Linked DNA regions of Homo sapiens: regions 2 and 3 are each linked to region 1. Evidence: promoter capture Hi-C in 16 types of primary human blood cells and fetal thymus (Javierre and others, 2016). All regions are on one chromosome and are shown on one strand. Each heading gives the region's core, a stretch centred on a gene start or on the middle of the fragment in contact. The rest is flanking DNA. Distances are from core to core; before and after follow the strand shown.

Region 1 (3,821 bases), core at 692-3,191:
GTGGAGTGGGTTAGGAGGGGCCCTCGGGGAGGGAAGAACAAGGAGAGAGGGAAGTGAGAGGAAAGGAGGTTTCTCCTTCATCTAAATCCCAAGTATACACCCTTCTAAGGTCTGTTCTGGCCCTTCCCTAGGGAGTGCCTTCCCCTCTACCTGCCAGGTCCCATAGATAAGGATGTCCTCCCCTGCAGGCGCCTGGCCTCCATCACAGCATGCCCACTCTGTGCCCGCTGCAACCTCCTCTGACTCTCCCACTAGACCGGTGCCTGGTACACATGCTCCTGCGTGCATGAACATCGGTCAGCTATGGGTCCTCAAGATGACAAAACCCCCTGCTCCTGTGTCCTCACGGGGATCTGCACCAGCACTGGGCTGAACACTCTCCCTGCAATCTGTCAGTCACGTCTTCTGTAGCATTTTCTTTCTGGCAACAACGGTTGGGGTCATTAAAAGTGTCTTTGAAATGCAACCTTTTAATTACAGGAGGAATACTGCCCCTGGGAAGGGGCCTTTCTTCAAATGCTCCAGGAATTCCTTGGCCAATACACTCCAGGGGGAACACAGCCCAAAACGGGCCTGTGGCTGTGATCAGACCCAGGCATCCTGTCAAAACAGGAGCCTGGGAAGGGGAAGCTCAGGGAAGGAAAGGGGCTCCTCTTGGGAAGAGCAGGGGTGCTGGAGGAAGAAACCCACCCAGTCCCCTTTGGGCCTAACTTAAGATATGCTCACCGGCTCTCTAGCACGCAGTTTTCCCCAGGAGGTCCCTTGGCCATGACCCAAAGTTAGGAACTAGGGGTCTGCGGACGCCTCCTCCTCCCATATCAGAATATGCTCTCCACCGCCTGCACGGTGGCATTGGCTTTCTGGAGCTTTAGGGCCAGCAGGGGCAGCAACCATCTTCCCACGTGTCTCAGGCTGACTGCACACAGCTCCTCTCTTTGTTTTCAGAAGCCAAAAAGAGCCAGGCAGGCCAAAGCGGGAAAAGGGGGGGCTTCTAGGAAACACCTGGGGTGGCTGGGCAGAGGTGAGATGTGACCCTGGCTAGCCTGAGGGCTCCCTGTGGCTTTCGATGGCCAGCCTGTGATAAAGCCCTGAGAACTCCATCTCCTGTGATTTTCCTGGGGTACTGATTTTCCCCTCCCTGGGAGTCTAGGTGTTTGTTTATAATATCCAAGAATGCTAATTGAGATCAAAGTGACTCTGAAGTTCACCCTGGGGGTGCTGCAGTCTGAAAGGTGTTTTGCAAAGACACGATCTTGGTTAGCCCTTCCCTGGCGCTATGCTGCAGGAAGCTTCTCACAGGGAATAGTCCACACTGTAATCTACCTCAGGCAGGTGTGCTGCTGGGAAACTCAGTTAATGATGTCTAATCTTTAAGAGCCATGGGAAACTCAGGAAGACCTAGCTGGACAGATACTACTCAGACATTTTCTCAAATAAGTGTGGCAGAGCCACTCCTCATCTGGTTCTTCCAGTCTTAGTTACCTGCCGAGCCAGGTGTGGCAGGTGTCAGGTACAGGGATCTGGGAGCTCAGAGAGCAGTAGCAGGAGCTTTAGGCTTCAGTTTTTTCTCCCACTTGATGGCCCCAGACGCCTTGGTGAAGTGAAATGCTCCCTGCCTGGGGCTCCAGGATGCCTTCGAGTGACTGCCTTAAGGTTATTGTGTTTTCTTGTGGCTACGCCAGGATGTTCTGCTTCACCAAGCATTTCCATCCTCAATCGTCATGTCCCTACTGAAACTCTGTGTTCTCTTCTCAAGCAATTTTCTGGTAAAAACATTTTCCTGGCTAGCCTGTAAGCATTGCTGTCTAGCTTTTGTGTTAGCACTGATTCAGATGGCCACTACCCACTCTGTGCAGCAGACTTTCAAGACCAAGCAGACTGATAGGCAGGCAGGAGGGTGGAGTTCTCTACCTGCTGGAATGCCCTGAGGCCCAGAGAAGGGATGGACAGGGCATCAGTGTCTCTCCCGTGTCTCTCTTGCCTTCAACCACTGACTCACCCATGTTGTTTCTCACTTAAGTTAAAACACACAGAGGGGCTGTTCTTAGAGAAAGTCTAACTCGGCTGGGCGTAGTGGCTCACGCTTACAATCCAGCACTTTGGGAGGCCGAGGCAGGCAGGTCATCTGAGGTCAGGAGTTTCAGACCAGCCTGGCCAACATGGTGAAACCCCGTCTCTACTAAAAATACAAAAATTAGCTGGGCATGGTGGCGCACACCTGTAGTCCCAGCTATTCAGGAGGCTGAGGCAGAGAATCGCTTGAACCTGGCAGGCAGAGGTTGCAGTAAGCAGAGATCACCATTGCACTCTAGCCTAGGTAACAAGATCGAAACTGTCTTAAAAAAAAAAAAGTCTAACTCTACTTTTGATCAAATTGTATTCTTGCAAACAATTTTGCAAGAAATTGATTGTCTCATTTTGATGCCATGATGACATTTTGGGAAATGTTTCCAAGTTGTTACAGTTTTCTAGCTGCCAGGACCTGGGTGCTTCCTGTGGCAGACAAAGGGTGACTCCGCGCATAGGGTGCCAAGAGGGAGGGCTCCACTCCATTCTGAACTTTTACACATCAGCCTCCTGCAAGATAAGCTTCCTGGTTTTCATATTACAACATGAACCAAACCGCAGAGGTTATGACTTCTCTGTGTTTTAAGCCCTGCCCACTTCCTGCTCACGTGCCTGGTCTGCAACGACCATTTATTTCAGGATGTGAAGTCAAAAGCAAAGCCCAAACAATAGTGAGCGGCTTCTGAGCCAAGCTCGTCAGCCTGCTAACCCACTCAGAACTGCCCCATCTTCAACATGAACAAGTGCTTCTGGAACAAATACCAGCCAATTTCACACAGTCCAGGCCTTTGACATGAAATACGGATCAGCTCTACATTTATGCACGACAATGTCGATTTGTTATCTGTTGGAGTGATTGTATACCTTCGGTGGTAGAACTGAGGTTCCCAGGGGAGCTATTAAGAAAAAAGCTTTTCTGGCACGGGTGCGGTGGCTCACGCCTGTAATCCCAGCACTTTGGGAGGCCAAGGCTGGTAGATCACCTGAGGTCAGGAGTTCGAGGCCAGCCTGGCCAACATGGTGAAACCCCATCTCTACTAAAAATACAAAAATTAGTTGGGCGTGATGGCGCATGCCTGTAATCCCAGCTACTTGGGAGGCTGAGGCAGGAGAATTGCTTGAACCTGAGAGGCAGAGATTGCAGTGAGCCAAGATCGAGCCACTGCACTCCAGCCTGGGTGACAGAGCAAGACTCCATCTCAAAAAAAAAGAAAGAAAGAAAGAAAGAGTTTTTCTGGCTAGGTGTGGTGGCTTATGCCTGTAGTCTCAGCTACTTGGGAGGCTGAGGTGGGAGGATTGCTTGAGCTGGGGGAGTTTGAGGCTGCAGTGAGCTATCACACCACTGCACTCCAGCATGGGTGACAGAGCAAGACCCTGTCTCGGGGGAGAAAAAAAAATGCAAATGCTTTCCTGACAGAACTAAGAGAGTTTGGAACTAGGGTTCTATAAAGTCAGCCCTGGTGTGGGACTTCTGTTATTACAGAGAGTACAGAAAGTGTCCTAAAAGGACAGCTGGGTGGCTGGGCATGGTGGCTCACATCTGTAATCCCAGCACTTCGGGAGCAGAGGTAGGCGGATCACCTGAGGTCAGGAGTTCGAGACCAGACTGGCCAACATGGTGAAACCCTATCTCTACTAAAAATACAGAATTAGCTTGGCATGGTGGTGCATGCCTGTAATCCCAGCTACTTGGGAGGCTGAGGCAGGAGAATCATTTGAACCCAGGAGGTGGAGGTTGCAGTAAGCTGAGATTG
Region 2 (3,821 bases), core at 921-3,420, 960 kb before region 1:
TATTCTTAGTAGAGACGGGGTTTCACCATGTTGACCAGGCTGGTTTTGAACTCCTGACCTTAGGTGATCCACCCGCCTCAGATTCCCAAAGCGCTGGGATTACAGGCATGAGCCACTGCACCTGGCTAATATTGATATGTTTTCCCTCTCTCTGCCGCATCAGCCTGTCCCACTGACAGAGTTGAGGATGCTCAAGGCGGCTCAACAGAGGGTACCTGGAGCAACTCACACTGCACTATCAGAGAGACACAAGTGCAAGCACACTCAGCCACAGCTGCAGCTCACCAATCAGCCTGCTGAACAGACCTGAACTTTAGCTGCATTTTTGGGGCAGAGCATATGGGTGCCAGGATGGGACCATAATCTTATCACCAATGAGTGGCCATTTAGGGATGATATAGTTGTCAACCCAGAGATGGCATGATCATGCCTTTTGACTTGGTCATTCTCTAAGTAAAACTTTTATTTGTTCCATCATATTTTCCACTTATTCTGTTTACCTTCAAAATATCTTTTTTTTTTTTTTTTGAGACAGGGTCACACTGTCACCCAGGCTAGAGTCCAGTGGCACTATCATGGCTCACCACAGCCTCAACCTTCAGGGCTCAGGTGATCCTCCCACTTCAGCCTCCCGAGTAGATGGGACTACAGGCACCTGCCACCACCCCCAGCTAATTTTTGTAGAGACAAGGTTTTGCCATGTTGTCCAGGCTGGTCTTGAACTCCTGGGCTCAAGGGATCCGGCCACCTCAGCCTCCCAAAGTGCTAGGATTATAGGCATGAGCCACTGTGCCCAGCCTACCTTCAACGTATCTAACTGGTTACTAACTTTTAGGATTCGGCCTATGTCTCACAACCTTCTTGCTTACTCAACATCCTTGTCTCTTAAGCCACTAGCTTCTTCTCTATGGTTAACACTTTTTATGAGTTTTATTCATCTGCTTATTTTTCTTATCCTCTATACCAGAATTGAATATTTTCAAATAAAGCACACTCATGTTACAATCTTTGAAATGAAAAAAAAAAATGCATAGGATTAGAAAAGAAACCAATTTTAATAAACTATATTTTGAAGTATAGTTCTATATTAAACAACAAGATCTAGGCCAGGTGCAGTGGCTCATGCCTGTAATCCCAGCAATTTGGGAAGTCGAGGTGGGAGGATTGCTTGAGGCCAGGGGTTCAAGACCAGCCTGGGCAACATGGAGAGATTCCCCATCTCTTTCTTTACACACACACACACACACACACACAAAATATCTGATAGCAACAGGTGCAGTCATTACCACAATTTCGAGTAGTGATGAGCTTAATAATATTTCGAGTTATCACCAACAACTGTAAAGTAACATGAAAACGTCTGTGATGACTATTGCCCACAAAGTCACAGGTACTGCTAATACTCCTGGTATTTGTAGTCAAATTCATAATAAAGGAAATGCTAGGTTTCAGTTGGTATTTTGTCCCGACGGTCTGTGGACGGCAGGTTAGAACGCCCGTCCAAGCCAGGAGGGTGGACCTAGCACTGCAGGGTCCACCTCGGGCCAATCAACTATATTCCCGAGGCGGGGGCCTGCGCTTCCCGGACCCAGCTGCCCTCAGGGGAGAGAGGACACACTTAAGAGTTTGGGGCCGGCGTGGTAGCTCATGCCCCTGATCCCAGCACTTCGGGAGGCTGAGGCGTGAAGATCACTTGTAGCAGGAGTTTGAGACCAGTCTAGCCAACTTGGCGAGACCCTGTCCCTAAAAAAAATTTTTTTTTAATTAGCCAGTTGTGGTGAGCGCCTGTAGTCCCAGCTACTCGGGAGGCTGAGGTGGGAGGATCGCTGGGCTCAGGAGTTCCAGACTGCAGTGAGCCATGATGGCGGCACTGCACTCCAGCGCGGTGAGACTCAGTCTCAAAAATAAAAGGGGGAGGGGTTGGGGGTAAAATTAGTTGTGAAATCAAGTAAGACTTCCTGGGACAGAACAATCAAAGGGGTGGCGCCGGGTCCTCCAAAGAGCTACTAGCTCAGCCCAAGCCCCGCCTCGGCCCCCAGGGCAGCGGCCCGCAGAGCTCCACCCGGCAGGCGCCCGGGAAACTCCGCCCCCCGGCCGGCAGGGGGCGCGCGCGCCGCCGGCCCCGCCCCGTGGACGCGGGTTCCGTGGGCGTTCCCGCGGCCAGGCATCAGCAATCTATCAGGGAACGGCGGTGGCCGGTGCGGCGTGTTCGGTGGCGGCTCTGGCCGCTCAGGCGCCTGCGGCTGGGTGAGCGCACGCGAGGCGGCGAGGCGGCAGCGTGTTTCTAGGTCGTGGCGTCGGGCTTCCGGAGCTTTGGCGGCAGCTAGGGGAGGATGGCGGAGTCTTCGGATAAGCTCTATCGAGTCGAGTACGCCAAGAGCGGGCGCGCCTCTTGCAAGAAATGCAGCGAGAGCATCCCCAAGGACTCGCTCCGGATGGCCATCATGGTGCAGGTGCGGGCCGCTGTGCGGGCGGCGGGGCGGGGACGCGGCGCCCCGGGTTAACTGTGTCCGGGAAGGCTGGGGGAGGGCGGGCCCAGGGAGCGAGCGGGCCCGGGCCCTCGGAGCGGCACTTGGGGCCTATGGGGCCGCGGCCGCCCCTCCTCCCGAGCGGCCCGGCCGACCCTTCCGGAAGGTTTTGCTGATGTTGCAGGAAAAGCCCGGGAAATAAAGTCTGCAGCTGGTGTTGCCTTTCGCTTTGTGAAAACGAGGAGCCTCTTCTCTTCTCCTTTCTGGGTGGCGGTGTTTTATTACTGCCGTTCGCCTCAGGGGTTGGGGGGGAATTGTACATGGTCTCTTTAAGCTAATCTGATTTTGACCTATCTTGTTCTGGAGGGTTTTTGTTCTACATGGATGGTGGCGACTGACATGTGGGTTTTTTTTTTTTTTGTTAAACCTATTTTTGGCAGTCATTTCAACACGTCATTTAAACGCTCACTCTCATTTTTTATTTTAATTAGGCAGAACTATGCAGAAAGGTGTCATTTCTGTACAGTACATTCACTTTGAGCCTAATTTGTGCTTTAAAGTAACATTTTCCCCAAATTTTCCAGATTCACAGACGCGTTCTCTTGGTGCATTTGCAGCTGTCTGGTTTGAGTAAGAGTGGCTCCAGGGGGGTTTCTCATGTGGGCTTTTTGATAGATTGAATCCCCTTCTGAGGTTTCCTGAGCCTTCTGTGAGGTGGTGGGCTTGAAGGCCCCTGTCATTTCCCAGGGGCTCCTGCCTCCAGCTTCCAGTTTGCCGATGTCTACCTTTGTATTAATAATTCTGGTTCTCATCTGCCCTGTTCCTCCTCGCTTCCAACATATTACCCAAGCTTAGTGCTCATGGTCAAGGTAGCTTGATTTTCCTCCCTTCCATGAGCTGTAATGTGTTTTAGGAATGACCAGATATCCCTCAGTGGATTTTCAGTACTTAGTACAAGGGAGGGCGACATTTACCGAGTGGATACCCAAGTGCCAGGTGTACTTCCGTTATCTTATTTCACAATATGCCTGTCATCTTGGTGTCCTCGGGGCATACCTAAGTCAGTACGTGGCACACAGTGCTTATTTGGTAGGCATTTTTTAAGTTCTAAGCACTCTGTTAGGTTTTAAGGACACAGAATCCACCTTTGGGAATTTCCAGTTTGGTTAAACGGGAAATGACTGGTAAACAAACGTTACCGTAAGAGAGGATGGATGCCACCTGATGGAGCTGTGCTCTAGGCATTGTGTGCCTAGGAGTCCGAGATGACCCAGCTAAGGGTGGAAGCTTGATTAGGAGTCGTTAATTCACAGAAGTGGAGCAGAAAGATGAGAATAGGGAAGTAGACAGGGC
Region 3 (3,821 bases), core at 969-3,468, 700 kb before region 1:
TGGGTGTGGTGGCATGTACCTGTAGTCCCAGGTACATGGGAGGCTGAGGCAAGAGGATTGCTTGAGTCCAGGAATTCGAGGCTGTAGTGAGCTATATGATCACACCACTGCATTCCAGCCCGAGCGACAGAGCTAGGCCCTCCCTCTAAAAAAAAAAAAAAAAAATTAAAAAAAATAAAAAGCAGTTAGAGAGCAGGACTGTAGCAGATTAGCCAGGGGGCACTACTGTTTTCTCATGTGACCTTCAACAACATCAGAACCTGTTCTGTCCTTTCTGTTGCATCACAGGGACTCATTAAAGTCAGACTGTCTGCAGATGTCTGGGAAGGAAAGTTTTTTGTATGCATACAAATTACTGTACTTACAAAGAGCTTTGTGAGGCCAGGCACGGTGGCCCCTGCCTGTAATCTCAGCACTTTGGGAGGCCAAAGCGGATGGATTGCTAGAGCTCAGGAGTTCAAGACCAGCCTGGGCAACATGATGAAACCCTGTCTCTACCAAAAATACAAAAAACTAGCTGGGTGTGATGGTGTGCACCTGTAGTCCCAGCTACTTGGGAGGCTGAGGTGGGAAAATTGCTTGAGCCCAGGAGGTAGAGGTTGCAGTGAGCTGAGATCAAGTCACTTCACTCCAGCCTGGGCCACAGAGCCAGACCCCATCTCAAAAAAAAAAAAAAAAAAAAAAAAAAAAAGATGGCTGGGCGCAGTGGCTGACACCTGTAATCCCAGCACTTTGGGAGCCTGAGGTGGGTGAATCACCTGAGGTCAGGAGTTCAAGACCAGCCTGGCCAACATGGTGAAACCCCATCTCTACTAAAAGTACAAAAATTAGCCAGGCATGGTGGCACATGCCTGTAATCCCAGCTACTTGGGAGACTGAGGCAGGAGAATCGCTTGAACCCGGGAGGTGGAGATTGCAGTGAGCTGAGATCGTGCCATTGCACTCCAGCCTGGGCGACAGAGCCAGACTCCGTCTCAAAAAAAAAAAAAAATGAAAGAGCTTTGTGAATAAGAATTCTCTGTTCAGAAGTTGGTTGAGGTAATGTATTTCTCCTGGCTTGCCTATTAGAGAGCTTCTAAAAGGTGGTTACTGCCTAGTCTGAACCCTCAGCTGATGATAGTTTTGGGGTTATATTGGTGTTGGGAAGATCACTAGTGAAAATGGCAGGGGTTCATTTCTAGAGGTAAGAACCTTAATATCCTTGATCTTAGTTCTAATATGTCCCTCAAATGAAAGATGGCATTCCCTGTACTTGTACCATTCCTAATCATAAAATGATTTGCAGCTAAAACATTTTAGCCTCACAGCAGTGAAGCTTTATCATTCCTAAGAATTGTTCATTACATGAGCGTCACTTCATCCCATTTAAAGATTTAGCTCACAAATTGTATTTGTCCATATGCCTTAGAAGCTACTGTCCTACCGTGTCTTGTATTTCATATGGTAGAAGAGTCTGAGTTTTTTGGGTTTTGGTTTGGTTTTTCTTCCTTAGGTCTTGAAAGGTAGACAGAGGAGTTTGCTTTCTCTGAAGAAGCATGGATGGTAACACATCCTCCTGTTTTAATTCTCCATTTTCTTCATTGTTTACAGGTCCTAAACCTTGGCTTAAATTCATAAAAGATGCCTTTTCATCTATCCCAGTAATCTTTAGTTTTATAGATTTAAAACAAAATTTGAGTCTTGAATCAATGGACCAGTCTATTTCTTGGATGTCAACAATAGTGTACATTTTGGATGGTTCTGTATTTCTCATTTGCATGTGAAACATGCTTAATTATAGGTATTTCTGTGGTTAAGTAAATCTGGTTTTGACCTACCTTTATAAGAGTGCCATCTGCTTTTTTAAAATAAACTTTTAATTTTAGAATAGTTTTAGATTTACAGAAAAGTTACAAAGATAGCACAAAGAGTACCCATATACCCTGCACCAAGTTCCCTCTGTTGTTAGCATCTTACATTGTACTGTGGTGCACTCATCACAGCTAATGAAACAATATTGATACATTGATTCATTAATTAACTAAAGTCCATATTTATTCAGATGTTTTTAGTTTTTACCTAATGTTCCAAGATCCTTTCCAGGATGCCACATTATAGTCAGTCATCATATCTCCTTAATCTGCTATAGACGGTGAGAATTTCTCAAACTTACCTTGTTTTAAATTCCTGATAGTGGCCATTGACAAGCATCACTCAGTGTGTTGCCAGAATTCACTCTGCCATGTTATAAACCTGAAAATCCATGCCTGTAGTCCCAGTCTCTTAAACAAACAAACAAACAAAAACAACAACCATAAACCCGAAAGTCTTGTCTTCTGTGCTGAATACTCCCTTGACCTCTTTGAGCTGGTTTGTATTAAATATGTTAAACTGTGACTTCGAAGCTGGTTCATAATTTTCTCATTCCTGTAGGTTTCTAGAGGCATTTTTTTTCCTAACCTCATAGCATTACAGTTCAAAAAACTCTTAACCGGGGCAAACCTTTCAGAGCCCATTTTTTGCCACTTAGATCATCTCTGGGTTAAATTGGCCTAGTGAAAATAATTGAATTTTCAGAGTATCTCTGAATGCCTATCTCTCTACTATGATTTTTTCATTTTACTGCTTATATTTAAGATATACAGAAAGCAATAGTCCTCACAAATCATCTTCCATCTTTCTAAAATGGGGAGGACTCATATTGGTCAGAAGGAGGATGATGAGAGCAACATTTTCATGTTACTCAGATGAGTGAAATTCCTGAGGATGAATTAGGAATTGAATGGCTATGGAAAGGGGAAAATGGGACCTTGAAATAGGAATGGTAGTAAGCACAGAAAGAGATAGGATGCTGACCACTGCTACCACTAGATGTTCATCACTGGGCTCCCAGGGCTCAGAACAGGGTTTGGTGTATAGCACATACTTAGGTATTTGAATGAATGAGTGAATGAATGAATGAATGAACGAACTAATAAATGCTCACATGCACATAACTTGTTAAATGGTTCAACAGAATTCCCAACAAGAGCAGTTTCTCAAAGAAAGGATAGGCTGGGCACGGTGGCTCACGCCTGTAATCCCAGCACTTTGGGAGGCCGAGGCAGGTGGGTCACAAGGTCAGGAGATTGAGACAATCCTGGCCAACATGGTGAAAGTCCATGTCTACTAAAAATACAAAAATTACCTGGATGTAGTGGTGCACGCCTGTAATCCCAGCTACTTGGGAAGCTGAGGCAGGAGAATCGCTTGCACCCAGGAGGTGGAGGTTGCAATGAGCTGAGATCACGCCGCTGCACTCCATCCTGGGTGACAGAGCAAGACTCTGTCTCCAGAAAAAAAAGAAAGGATAGATTTTAATTGCCTGATGCAAGTGTGGTTTTCCTGAATCTGTTCATTGACTTGTCTCTGTTCTTACAGAAAACATCGGTTGTGAAGAGAAAGCCAAAAAGAATGCCAACAAGCCTTTGCTGGATGAGATTGTGCCTGTGTACCGACGGGACTGTCATGAGGAGGTGTATGCTGGCAGCCATCAATATCCAGGGAGAGGAGTCTATCTCCTCAAGTTTGACAACTCCTACTCTTTGTGGCGGTCAAAATCAGTCTACTACAGAGTCTATTATACTAGATAAAAATGTTGTTACAAAGTCTGGAGTCTAGGGTTGGGCAGAAGATGACATTTAATTTGGAAATTTCTTTTTACTTTTGTGGAGCATTAGAGTCACAGTTTACCTTATTGATATTGGTCTGATGGTTTGTGAACTCTTGCTGGGAATCAAAATTTCCTTGAGACTCTTTAGCATTCATACTTTGGGGTTAAAGGAGATTCCTCAGACTCATCC

The links. Contacts are between HindIII fragments. The CHiCAGO score rates a contact against its expected background, and 5 or more counts as called.
Region 2: a contact is called between the fragment with the promoter of PARP1 here and a fragment that was not itself captured in region 1, in 3 of 17 cell types (total B cells, naive B cells and monocytes). The highest score is 6.2, in total B cells.
Region 3: the fragment with the promoter of ACBD3-AS1 here is called in contact with a fragment that was not itself captured in region 1 in 1 of 17 cell types (naive B cells); the score reaches 5.7 in naive B cells.

Annotation. Positions count from the first base shown.
Region 1 is chr1:225,443,886-225,447,706 of GRCh38, reverse strand. No RefSeq gene overlaps it. Among named protein-coding and RNA genes, the nearest start is that of LBR, 18 kb to the right of the region's middle. RefSeq lists enhancers at 1-434, 435-995, 996-1,556, 2,452-2,501, 3,002-3,071 and a cis regulatory region at 2,358-2,897. The HindIII fragment of the contact is 1,300 bases long and covers 1,292-2,591 here.
Region 2 is chr1:226,406,442-226,410,262 of GRCh38, reverse strand. It overlaps PARP1 (poly(ADP-ribose) polymerase 1), which reads left to right and starts at 2,170. Exons shown (of 23, transcript NM_001618.4): 1 at 2,170-2,453. The coding sequence starts at 2,334. RefSeq lists a cis regulatory region at 1,575, enhancers at 1,503-1,647, 1,826-1,955, 3,546-3,605 and silencers at 1,986-2,245, 2,496-2,595. The HindIII fragment of the contact is 6,506 bases long and covers 1-3,320 here.
Region 3 is chr1:226,146,400-226,150,220 of GRCh38, reverse strand. It overlaps ACBD3-AS1 (ACBD3 antisense RNA 1), which reads right to left and starts at 2,218. Exons shown (of 2, transcript NR_146443.1): 1 at 2,153-2,218. It overlaps ACBD3 (acyl-CoA binding domain containing 3), which reads left to right. Exons shown (of 8, transcript NM_022735.4): 8 at 3,400-3,821. The coding sequence ends at 3,611. It also overlaps the pseudogene LOC124904586. The HindIII fragment of the contact is 12,330 bases long and covers 1,318-3,821 here.